Regions from separate parts of the Homo sapiens genome. Here region 1 is linked to region 2. Evidence: promoter capture Hi-C in 16 types of primary human blood cells and fetal thymus (Javierre and others, 2016). All regions are on one chromosome and are shown on one strand. The core of a region is centred on a gene start or on the middle of the fragment in contact, and the rest is flanking DNA. Distances in the headings are between cores, read along the strand shown.

Region 1 (5,432 bases), core at 2,008-4,507, 250 kb after region 2:
CATGTGTGTGTGTATATGTGTGTGGTGTATGTGTGGTGTGTGTGTGTATACGTGTAGTGTGTTTATATGTGTGTGGTATGGGGTTCCTGCAGCAGGTCACTGTCACTCTGCAGGGTGTCCCCACCCGCAGGGATTTGGCCGACATCTTCAGCTGTCCATTGGTTGGCCAGTCCCATCTTTTGGGGTTCAAAGGCTGAGAAGAGAAAATGGAGCCCGACCCTGAGCAGGTTTAGAGCAGAGGACACCCCTCACCCATGATCCAACATGCCAGACCCTTTCTCATCTGTTAGCAAGAAAGCCAGTCCTTGAGGGACTTAGATCACTCCCATCACCATTAGAATGGGCTTCCCAACATCTATGACTCAACATCCCCCTCAACTGAGTGAGACTGTCAGATCCCTGCCCCCATCCCCCACCCCTACCTGCTATGGCCTAGCTGAGCTCCAAGGATGAAGACCCCGCGGCCCCAGGTGTGCCTGCGAAGCTGTATGTGGGGTGAGGAGCACACTGGTGAGCAGGGTGTGAGCCCTGGGACTGTCACAGCCCCGTAAGGTTCAGAGCAGGCTCCTTCCCACCTTGGCCCGGGTCTCCTGGGAGTGTGGTGAGGCACAGGGCTGGCTGTCTGCTGACATTCTCAGTCCTTCCAGCAGGGTACATCCTCTGCCCTTCCCCCTGAGGGGTTAACCATCAGGACTGCCCCTCCTTCCTCAAACCCTGGCAGTTCCAGGGGTGCCCTCTGTCCCAGGCCTGGCCTGGCCAGCTGCCCCCTCCATTCTGCAGGGCCATGTGGATTCCCTCTAGCTGTCCCTGGTCCAGGCGCTCAGTGGCAGAACTGTAAATCCTCTAGGCTGGCTCCAGACTCTACCTGCCTGGGCACCTGCTTCGGAGGACGGGCCTGCCTTTCCCGCCCCCGGCAGATGGCCACTGCGCCTTGGGATCTGCAAGCAGGAAAAGCAGCACCAAGCATCCCCTGACTGGGCCTCCCTTGGTCCTGGCCCGCTTCCCTCACACCCCTCCCCAGGCAGCGTGCCCCTGCCCACCTGTGGGCAGCACTGGCTGTTGGCTCCAGCCCATTCCAGTGCTCATTCTGACGGTTAAGTCAGACGTCACTCCACAAATATTTTTGGCCTCCTTGCTCTGAGCCAGGCACTGTGCCAGGCCCTGGGGATACCAAGATGAATGAGGAAGCTAGAGGGTACTGCCCACAAGGACTCAGGAGAGCAGAGCAAGTAACACAGAACGCAATGTAGTAAAAGCAAGGGCATTGTTCATAAAACAGAGCTAATCACACGCAGGCACTGCTGTAAGCACTTTATGTACATTAGGTCATGTAGTTGCACAGCTCCATGGTGGAGGTCTCATTACAAATACGGAAGCTGAGGCTCAGAGAGGTGAGGACATTTGTCCAGGGCCACCCAACTACTACAGGGTCGAGGTAGGATTCAAACCCAGGCTGTCCAGCTGTCCAGCTCGAGCCTAGCTTTTATTTATTTATCTATTTATTTATTTGAGACTGAGTCTCACTCTATCACCCAGGCTGGAGTGCAGTGGTGCTATCTTGGCTCACTGCAACCTCCGCCTCCTGGGTTCAAGTGATTCTCGTGCCTTAGCCTCCAGAGTAGCTGGGATTACAGGCATGCACCACCACACCCGGCTAATTATTGTATTTTTCAGTAGAGGCAGGGTTTCTCCATGTTGGCCAGGCTGGTCTCAAACTCCTGACCTCAATTGATCTGCCTGTCAAGGCTAGCTTTTAAACAATGTTAGATTGCTTCCAGATGAACCCAGGAGGAAGAAGCTCAGAGGGCATCTCTGAGCTGCCTGGAGAGGTAGTGAGGGATCACCGGGCAGCTGGCTTTCTCTTCCCAGAGGCATTGAACTGATTTAAATATGGCTCTAAACACAGTGAGCTGGCAGGGGCCTTGGGGCCTCATGATATTAAGCCCTTAATGGTGTGAAGCCCTTCCAGGTACTAAAGGGCAGCAATGTTGGCCCTTGGCATGGGAGGGCAGGGAGGGAGGAGGGCCATGGTGCCAAGAATCTGTAACCACAAGACACCATGTCTCAAAAAAAAAAATTTTTTTTGAGACAGGGTCTTGCTCTGTTGCCCAGGCTGGAGTGCAGTGGCACAGTCTTGGCCCACTGCAGCCTCAAACTCCTGGGCTTAAGCTGTCCTTCCACCTCAGCCTCCCGAGTAGCTGGGACTACAGGTGTGTGCCACCATGCCAGGCTAATTTTTTAATTTTTTGCAGAAGTGGGGTCTTGCTATGTTGCCCAGGCTGGTCTCGAACTCTGGGTTCAAGCAATCCTCCCACCTTACCCTCCCAAAGTGCTGGGATGACAGAAGTGAGCTACTCCTGGCTAAGACACCCTGTCTTTGGTGCCAATATCACCACATGAGCAGAGGGCAGTCCTGGGGGTCCCAATGAGGCCTCTCCACCATTTATTTTATTCATTCCATTATAGTCCATACTTGCTTGATCACCACACTTATTTCATTGCCTGTCTATCTCCTAAGTCTCCAAGTTCCCCCATGAGCCATCACACCTGGGCAGGGCATGAATGTTAACATGTATCCCCAGGACCATGGTGATGGGGAGGGGGGTGGGGTGGTGGGGGGTGGGGGGGCAGGGTGAAGCTTCATTCATAAGCACCCTCACTCCTCACTACAAACTCTCAGAGAGTTCTGAGAACTCTCCAGGAACAATGTTGCAACCATTCGTTCCACACATATTTATCAAGGGCCTCCTGTGTACCACGCAGGATTTAGGCACCAGGAACCCAGATCCGCCCTCAAGGACCTCTAGTGCAGCAGGGGAGACAGAGAAGAAAGCAGGCAGCCACGTGCTAGGGAGAGCCAAGCCACGGGGGAGACCAGTGGCTCTTGGGGGTGGACTGATGACTGCAGGGTGAAGTTATCCCTTTGAGGGGCCCAGACACTGAGCTGAGAAATGGCACAATTGCTAGAGAGAGAATTACAAGAAAAGCTGAGCTGTGGATACAAACGTGTGAGACAGAGAGGGGCAGGAGAAGAAGCCAGGCTGGCAGGGGTAGGGGGGTAATAATTCCAGTTCTAACTGCTTCTACACAGAAAAACTCATTCAATCCTCGCAACAAGTTTATGAGGCAGGTACTCTTAAAATACCGATTTCATAGGTGAGAAAACCATTGGCACAGAGAGGTTCAGTGACTTGCCTCGGACACACAGCTAGAAAGTAACAGGTAGGTTTTTTTTTTTTTTTTGAGACAGAGTCTTGCTCTGTCACCCAGGCTGGAGTGCAGTGGTGTGATCTCAGCTCTTGCAACTTCCACTTCCCGGGTTCAAGCTATTCTCCTGTCTCAGCCTCCAGAGTAGCTAGGATTACAGGCGTGCACCACCACACTGGGCTAATTTTTTGTATTTTTAGTAGAGGTGGAGTTTTACCAAGTTGGCCAGGCTGATCTCGAACTCCTGACCTCAAGTGATCTGCCTGCCTCGGCCTCCCAAAATGCAGGGATTACAGGTGTGAGCCACTGCGCCCAGCCACAGATAGGATTTGAACCCAGGAAATCCGGCTCCAGCATCTGTGCTTCTAACCACCATACTGCACGGCTGTGGCAAGCAGGAGTCAAACCATAGACATCCTTTTGGTCATACTAAGGAGCCTAAAATGCTCTCCCAGGGGATGCGGAGACCCTGGAAGTTTGAACGGGAAAGAGGGATGAGGCTGGAGGCCGCATGGAGGATGGGTTTCAGGGGTGAGGCGCGAGGGCAGCCAGGAGGCTGTTGCTGCAGCCAGGTGAGAAGAGGTCCAAGGCAGCGGTGGGAGAGGGCAGGATGAATTTGAGAAAAACCAAGAAGGTAAACTTGGCAAAATGTGTGACTGGCAGGAAATGAAAGCTTGTGAAGAGGGAGGTGTGAAGAGGGGCTTTCCGATCTCTGGCTGGGTGCTTGGGGGAGGGTGCGCCACCGGCCAGGCCACCGAACACAGGAGAAAGGCTGTCGGAGTGACGCTGAGTTGAGGTTGGGGTGTGTTGTCTTGGAAGTATTTGCGGGACGCCCAGGTGGAGGTGCACAGCAGTCAGTAGAACCCCACAGCCCTGCTGCTACACCAAACCCATCTTCTCCCCACCCACCCTGCCCCCTCCCCCAGCCCCATCTTCCTCACCCCCCTCCTCCCTCCATTCTAGAGCCACCAGACTCCTGGAAAGCCCCAGTGCTTCCTCTGGGTTCCCAAGTCCTTGCACCTGTGTGGCACCAGGGCCTCCTCCCTGAAGCAACAGTTCGCCTCCCGTGGAGTGGGCATCGCAGATCCGCTCCCATTTCCGGCCTGCCCTTAATGTCCTCAGATGCTGGGATGGGAGTTTTCTAGTCTGTTTTCCCCTGGCAGCAGTGGGGACTTGATCTCCCTCCACGTCGTGTGGCCACAGCCTGTGACTCCATCCCCGTTAAGTGAACCAACACCGAATTGAGGAAGATCCCGTGCCGACCTGCACACTGATCTGTTGCAAGTCTGCTCATCAGGGTTCCTAGAGGGCAGCCACCTGGGCTGTGGCAGGGAAAGAACTGGGTGTGTAGGGGAATCAGGAAGGGGGATTTGTGGCAGACAGAGCTTGGGATGAGATGGGACCCAGGGTGCCTGGGAGAGACCTCTCACCAGAGGTTAGGAATCTAGATGCTAACCCTGGCCCTGCTACTGTGCTGCTGTGTGACCTTGGGCATGTTACCCAACTGCATGCATCTCCTCTGTCATACTCAGGCTCAACAGCATAGCCTGGCAGCCGGACATGTGGGCTGTCGACCTCCCTGTGTCACCTTCCTGCAGGGCGGCCTCTCTGCCATCAGGAGAGGGGAAGCCCACAGAGCCACAGTGAGCAGTGCTGGAGGGGTGGGCGCTTGGCAGAAAGCCCAGCAAGGTGTTTTAGCAGCAACAGGACAATAGAGCGGCTTAGCACCGGGAGCTTATTCTGCTTATTTTCCCATCTGTGTGTCGGGACATGCCAGGGCTGGGTGTCTACATTTCGGTAAGCCTCTTGCTACAATAGCATTCTCAGCAGCTTCAGTCACTTAGACCACAGTGGTAATCCGCTCAGGAAGAGCCCAGCCCTCGCCGCAGCAGCCCGGGGGGCCGTATTTGGGGCAGGACGCCCGTCTGCCTCTGCAGCCACTCCTATTGCCTGCCTGCCTCTCTTTCCTTGTCCAGTGTGTCACCTTCAGATGCCCTACAGGCCCCCCAACAAGGGTGGGTCAGTGGGAGCACTGATGGGTCCCTCCCAGCTGAAGGGAATTAGGTTAGACATGAGGAAGAACTGTCCCAGTGTTGGGGTGGCAAGTAAAGAGGAAGGTGGTTTCTTTTTCCCTAAACAGTTTTAAAAATATTAGCTATTCTTCTATCTGAGGTACAGTCAGGTGAGTTTGGCCTGGGGGCAGGGAGATGGCCACTGAGCCCCTG
Region 2 (5,790 bases), core at 674-3,173:
ATAGAGCCTGAGCTCTTAACCATTATGCTATGATGCCTCTCCAAAATGGAATGTAAAGTATTAGCTGATTTTATGAAACACACCACAGACTTTTTTGCTGACCTGAATCACACCTTGCAAATATGACGACAAGTAGAAAATGTGGCTGTCATGCTGTATGTATATGATAATATAAAAATCAAACTTAAGACCAACTTTTATCTAGTATAGAAATGAGGCATAATTCAAAATTATAATGCTCTCTGCTTCCTTAAACGAAACCAAATCCCTTCCTTAAACCAAATCCCTTCACTTTCCTTCGGCTTCGAGTCAGGTCATGAACATGTGTCAATGCATGCTCACCATTTGCTGGCCACCGCGTGCCCCTCAAGACTTGCTCAGGGTCTTTGGGGCCGCTGCACTTATCTGGGCCAAGTCAGGCAGGGAGCAGTATATTCCTCTGCTTGAAACCTTGCACCATGGGAACCTGCCCCCACCGGTTCTGTCTAGTCCTGCCCACGGTCTACACTGGCATCCTGCCATCCCCTCACCATTGAAAATGCTAAATAAAGGCTTATAGCTTTGTGTTTCCACATTGTGCTCGATTCTTTGTGGTAGATGTGGGGGGTGGTTCCACATTCCCAGCCCATCCTAAATTCCTATCTTCTAAAAGTGGAGCTGCCTAGTTTAGAAAGTAGCTGCTTGGCTGAAGTAAATTCTTAACAAATTAGTCTCTTCTAGGATACACATTAAAATGAGTGGTTGGAATGGGAAGAAGACAGAACAGAAAGTCAAGAAACTCCGACTAGTGAGACTGAAGTGAGGCTACAATGGCATGATGGGTGCGAAAGAGATTGGTAAACTGTAAAATCCTTTAGAGACCGTGTGGCCCCTTCACTGTCTAGGCCAGTGGTTCTCAAAGGGTAGTGTGTGTCAGAATTACCTGGAGGGCTTGTCAAAACACAGATTTCTTGGCTCACTACTTCTGATTCTCTAGGTCTGGCTGGTGGCCAAGAATTTGCATTTCTATCAAGTTCCCGTGTGATGCTGAAGTTGCTAGTCCAAGGATCACAATTTGTGAACCACTGGTTGCTGGATGAGTAAAATCCATTGTGTCCACAGGAGGCATACAATAGACACTCAGATGGGGTTGTTATTATTACTACTCTCCATATCTTGGTAACCCCAACGTTTGCTCTCTTCTGCTTCCAGATTACTCAGCACAGTTTGGCTGAGATTTATGCAAAGAGAGACAGCATTCCCTTTCCACACATCTATATGTAGCAACCTCCTGCCATTAATACCCTTTCTTATTTAAAAGCTGCTTCACAGTTTGTAAGGAACTCTCACATACGTTATTGTGTTTTTATATGAAATTCTTCCCAATTTCTGAGCATAAATTATGCCAAGTAAAGTCTCATTAAGAAATAATGCACTTAAAGCGGGGGACGGGGCGATGAGGAGAGAACGCCCCCTCCCCTTGGCATTTGCAGCTCTGAATGTAGGCATAGATTTAACTCAGACCAAGTATCCTAGAGGGGATAGGTGTCTCCCTTATGGCTAGAAGGTGCAAAGTTAAGAGCCCCAAAAAGCAGTGATAATAAACATCCCTCTTGTGCTCCTTCTCGCCAAATAAAGCGAATGGGTGGAGGAAATCCTGGGCGAGCCCTCCTCGGCAGGGTCCCTCAAGCTGGAGCCGAAACTGCGACTCCCACGCCCGCCGCCCCCGCCCCTGAACTGCAGCCCGCTCTCTGCAATGCAAAAACGCAGCAGCATCGTCCTCCAGCCCTCTCCTGGGGGATCGCACGGTGCAACCAACCCCAAAAACGAAGCTGCGCGACGCCCCCTCAGCCCCGCGGGCTTCCCATTGGCCGGTTGCCGCTGTCACTCCCTCCTAGCCTCGCCTTCCCGCTCCCGGGCGGAGGCAGCCGGGCGGGGTAGGTTGCGCGCTCGCCGCGGGCTCGGGCCGCGGTCGCGGCTTTGCGGCAGGCTGCGCGTCAGGCGGGGAGCGGGGCGCGCGGGCCGGGGAGGGGGCCGGGCGCGCTGCGGGCTCCGCGGCCGGACCATGCGGGGCAGGGGCCGGTTGCAGGGCCGGGGGCTGCAGCCGGCGCCGATGGCGGCCGACTAGGACCTGCCCGGCCGGCTGCCCCGCGCCCCGCCTCGCCCCGCAGCCCGGCCGGCCGGGAGGGATGCGCTGTGCCGCCCAGCTCCTCTCCGTCCTGCCCATGCCCTGAAGCAGAAAGTTTGGGGGCCGGGGGTTGTCTCCCTTCTCCCTCCTGCAATGACTGCCCAAGGACTCTTGCTGCCCAGCCTCGACTGTGACCTGTCTTCGCTCCCCAGGTCGAAATGAACTATTCCAAGCTATAACCAAGGCTCCCCCTTCTCGCCCCTCCCTCACCCGCCTTTAAGAATTTTTTTTTTAATTCAAGAAATTGTGGTCTGCCATCTCCCCTCCTTGTTAATAATTTAGACCCCAGGCCTCATATGAATATAAGAGGGGGTGCGGTCTTCCCCAAGACGGCGCGCTGGAAGGACAGATTCCCCTTGCCGACCCACATACACCATGAAGAGGTGCAGATCGGACGAGCTGCAGCAACAACAGGGCGAGGAGGATGGAGCTGGGCTGGAAGATGCCGCTTCCCACCTGCCGGGCGCGGACCTCCGGCCTGGGGAGACCACGGGTGCTAACTCTGCTGGCGGGCCAACTTCAGACGCCGGCGCTGCCGCGGCGCCCAACCCAGGTCCCCGAAGCAAGCCTCCTGATTTAAAGGTGAGCGCAGACCATCCCCCCGGCAAGCCCAGCCCGCGACTTAGCTCTCGCCACCCCACGCAGAAGTGCTTTAACAGGATAAAAGTGAGGGGGGAAGCCAGGCAAAGGTCAGAGAGGATGAGCGGATGCTTTGCTGGCACCCCAGGGGGGACGTCAGGTACCATTTATGCCTCTGTCTTTCAGCTCCGTGTCAGGTCTCTGTGTTTGTTCCCCATTATTCAGCAAGCGTTTTAGTGACTCACCCATCCGAGATTGTTTGAATAATGTGTGAAGTGTTATTCGCAGACAAAGGGCTGGAGAAATCCAAGATGCTAACCAAAAAGTGGACAGCAGGTGACCATTAGTTTTCCTTGCTGAGTAAGTCTCTACCCATTGGGATCTTTGTGTGTGTGTGTGTGTGTGTGTGTGTGTGTGTGTGTGTGTGTGTATGTGTGTGAGACGGAGTCTCGTTCTGTCGCCCAGGCTGGAGTGCAGTGGCGCGATCTCGGCTCACTGCAACCTCCACCTCCTCGGTTCAAGCGATTCTCCTGTCTCAGCCTCCAGAGTAGCTGGGATTACAGGCACCCGCCACCACGCCCGGGTAATTTTTGTATTTTTAGTAGAGACGGGGTTTCGCCATGTTGGCCAGGCTGGTCTTGAACTGACCTCAGGTGATCTACCCGCCTCGGCCTTCCTAAGTGCTGGGATTACAGGCGTGAGCCACCGTGCCGGGCCCCATTGGGATCTTTGAGCGCTTTCCTGGATGAAGCTCAGTTTGCCGATCTGTGAAGGGGCGGGGGGGGGGGGGTGGTGGCGGGGGCGGGGGGGGAAGGTGGATTTCCTGCCGTTAGGTGGAGCCAGAGGTTAAGATAGTGCTTGGAGATCTCTGCCTGCCTGCTGAACCAACCCCCAGGGTGGAGAACTGACAGGTGGTGGAGCAGTGCTTGGGCTGGTTTGGGGCCTCAGTTCAAGTTGCATACATGCTGAGCCAGCAGCTAGAACCAGAAGCCGAAAGAACTGTTCACATGGAGCTGTTTATTTTCCGGCCTGAGGTTGCCGAGACAATTGGCGAGCTGTCTTGAATATATCTCTATCAATTAAAACAGCAGCTGAGATAAATAATGCACCTTTGCCGGAACTGCCACAGGGACTGCAGGCTCAGGCTTCTCAAGCCAGCTCACCGTCCAGCTGAGCGAGATGTCAGCCCAAGGAAGGAACTTAGATGCCTTGGAAATTGATGCCTCACAGTTATTTTCTCCAGAGAAGGTGCAGGGTCTGGGCTAGGGAAACGGAAAGGACTCTGTTGCATTTAATAAAGCCTATATCCTATGGCAGCAGCCACTAAGGAGCTCACCAGAATAAGCCAATGCCATTCCTCATTTGGCCTGAGCAGCTCAGAGTCAGGAAGTCAGAGCGCAGGTGAGTGTGTGTGCTCTTACCTGTGTATGTTACCTGTCTGTGTGCCTTGGGGAGGAGTGAAAAGGGGGACGACTAGGTTATTGTTGTGTGTGTTTTTTAAACTTTGCAGTAATTATTCAAATCTGAACTCTGGTTCTGCCGCCGTCCTTTTCAGAGCTTCGTGGCTAGACTTATGTCTAGAGGATCTCTGTGGGATAGGCTCTCTCTGCACAAGAAGCTTGAGCTTTTGCCAGGCCCAGGGAGTCCTTGGTGTTTATCTCTGCTGTCACCCCCGAGTCCATCCCATGTGGTCAGGAGGTGTAGTTCCTGTTTTAAGTGAGATGGTGAGGGGGAAGGGGTCTCTTGAATGCTGTTGTGGGGAGGAGGCTAGCCTTCTGCTGCAGACTTCAGCCTCATTCTGAGCCGGTCCAGATGAGTCTGGCCAGCAAACCCTGAATCTTTGACCAATGAGACCCTCAGCTGAGTCTGTGAGAGGCAGCTTTGGAAATTCCCCACTCTCCAACTCAGGACAGCAGTGGAAACTGCTTTCTCCATTTATTCCCCCAGTTGCCTTCATGAGGAAGATGGGTTGGTCATGGCATGGGGGCTGCAGTGTCTCTGTAGAGGGACGCCTTAAGGGATGCCACGTTTCCACTCTCCTGTATTATCTTTTTTTTCTTTCTTTCTTTCTTTTTTTTTGGCAGTGCCCTCATTCTGGTCAGGGGCAGATGTAGTAACAACTTTACACTTGATATTAACTGCCGAACTGCCCTCAACCAGAATTGAAATCAGGTGTAAGAAAAGGAGGCTTCCCCTTACCCCGCGCCCCCATCCACCCCATCCCCCCATCCCCCCCCCCGCCCCCAGAGAAAACATACCATTGAACCCAGCAATGTGGACCCAGTAAGGAGCAGAAAACCCAGCTGCAGCCTGCTTGTGGGAGCATGGGGAAACAAGCAGGGCTTTTCCTGTTTATCTCTGTCTGCTTCATCACAACATGTTTACTACCGGGTGCAAGGGACTTCCAACCAGATGTGACTTGGGGACTTTCACAGTTTGATTTGCTGTGTGGTCTTGGGCAAATCACTCAACTTTTCCGAGCCTTTTTCTGGTGAAAGGGACTAGGAATATCGGAGTGTGTCCAAACTTATTTATTTATTTATTTTGAGACAGAGTCTTGCTCTGTCACTCAGGCTAGAGTGCAGTAGCATGACCACGACTCACTGCAGTCTCAAACTCCCAGGCTCAAGTGACTCCCCAATCTCAGCCTCCCAAGTAGCTGGTACTACAGGCACACGCCACCATGCCTGGTTAATTTTTAAATTTTTTGTAGAGACAGGGTCTTGCTATATTGCCTAGGCTGGTCTTGAACTCCTGGACTCAAGCGAAACTCCTGCCTCATTCTCCCAAAAAGCTGGGATTACAGGTGTGAGCCACCGTGCCCAGCCCCTCCAAACTTGCTTTCCAGTGCTGGAAAAATTGTTTTCCAATGCTGGCACAGTTTTCCAATGATAGAAAAATTCCATTATTGACTCTGGAACTGGGTAGAAGTTGACTTGTTTTAGATTTGATGGTGGTACCACAGAAGGGTGTTTAATTTTTAATGCTCCCCTACCTCATACCTGTGTTTGGTCAAGGCAGATAAGCAGTTCTGGTTTGCTTTT

Evidence for each region. Contacts are between HindIII fragments. The CHiCAGO score rates a contact against its expected background, and 5 or more counts as called.
Region 1: a contact is called between a fragment that was not itself captured here and the fragment with the promoter of TMCC2 in region 2, in 1 of 17 cell types (naive B cells). The highest score is 5.3, in naive B cells.

What each region holds. Positions count from the first base shown.
Region 1 is chr1:205,476,953-205,482,384 of GRCh38, forward strand. No RefSeq gene overlaps it. Among named protein-coding and RNA genes, the nearest start is that of TRK-TTT8-1, 5.5 kb to the left of the region's middle. RefSeq lists a silencer at 4,087-4,146 and an enhancer at 4,322-4,922. The HindIII fragment of the contact is 1,242 bases long and covers 2,637-3,878 here.
Region 2 is chr1:205,226,023-205,231,812 of GRCh38, forward strand. TMCC2 (transmembrane and coiled-coil domain family 2) reads left to right here and starts at 1,924. Exons shown (of 5, transcript NM_014858.4): 1 at 1,924-2,749. The coding sequence starts at 2,543. RefSeq lists an enhancer at 1,575-1,714 and a silencer at 1,845-2,024. The HindIII fragment of the contact is 5,482 bases long and covers 1-4,362 here.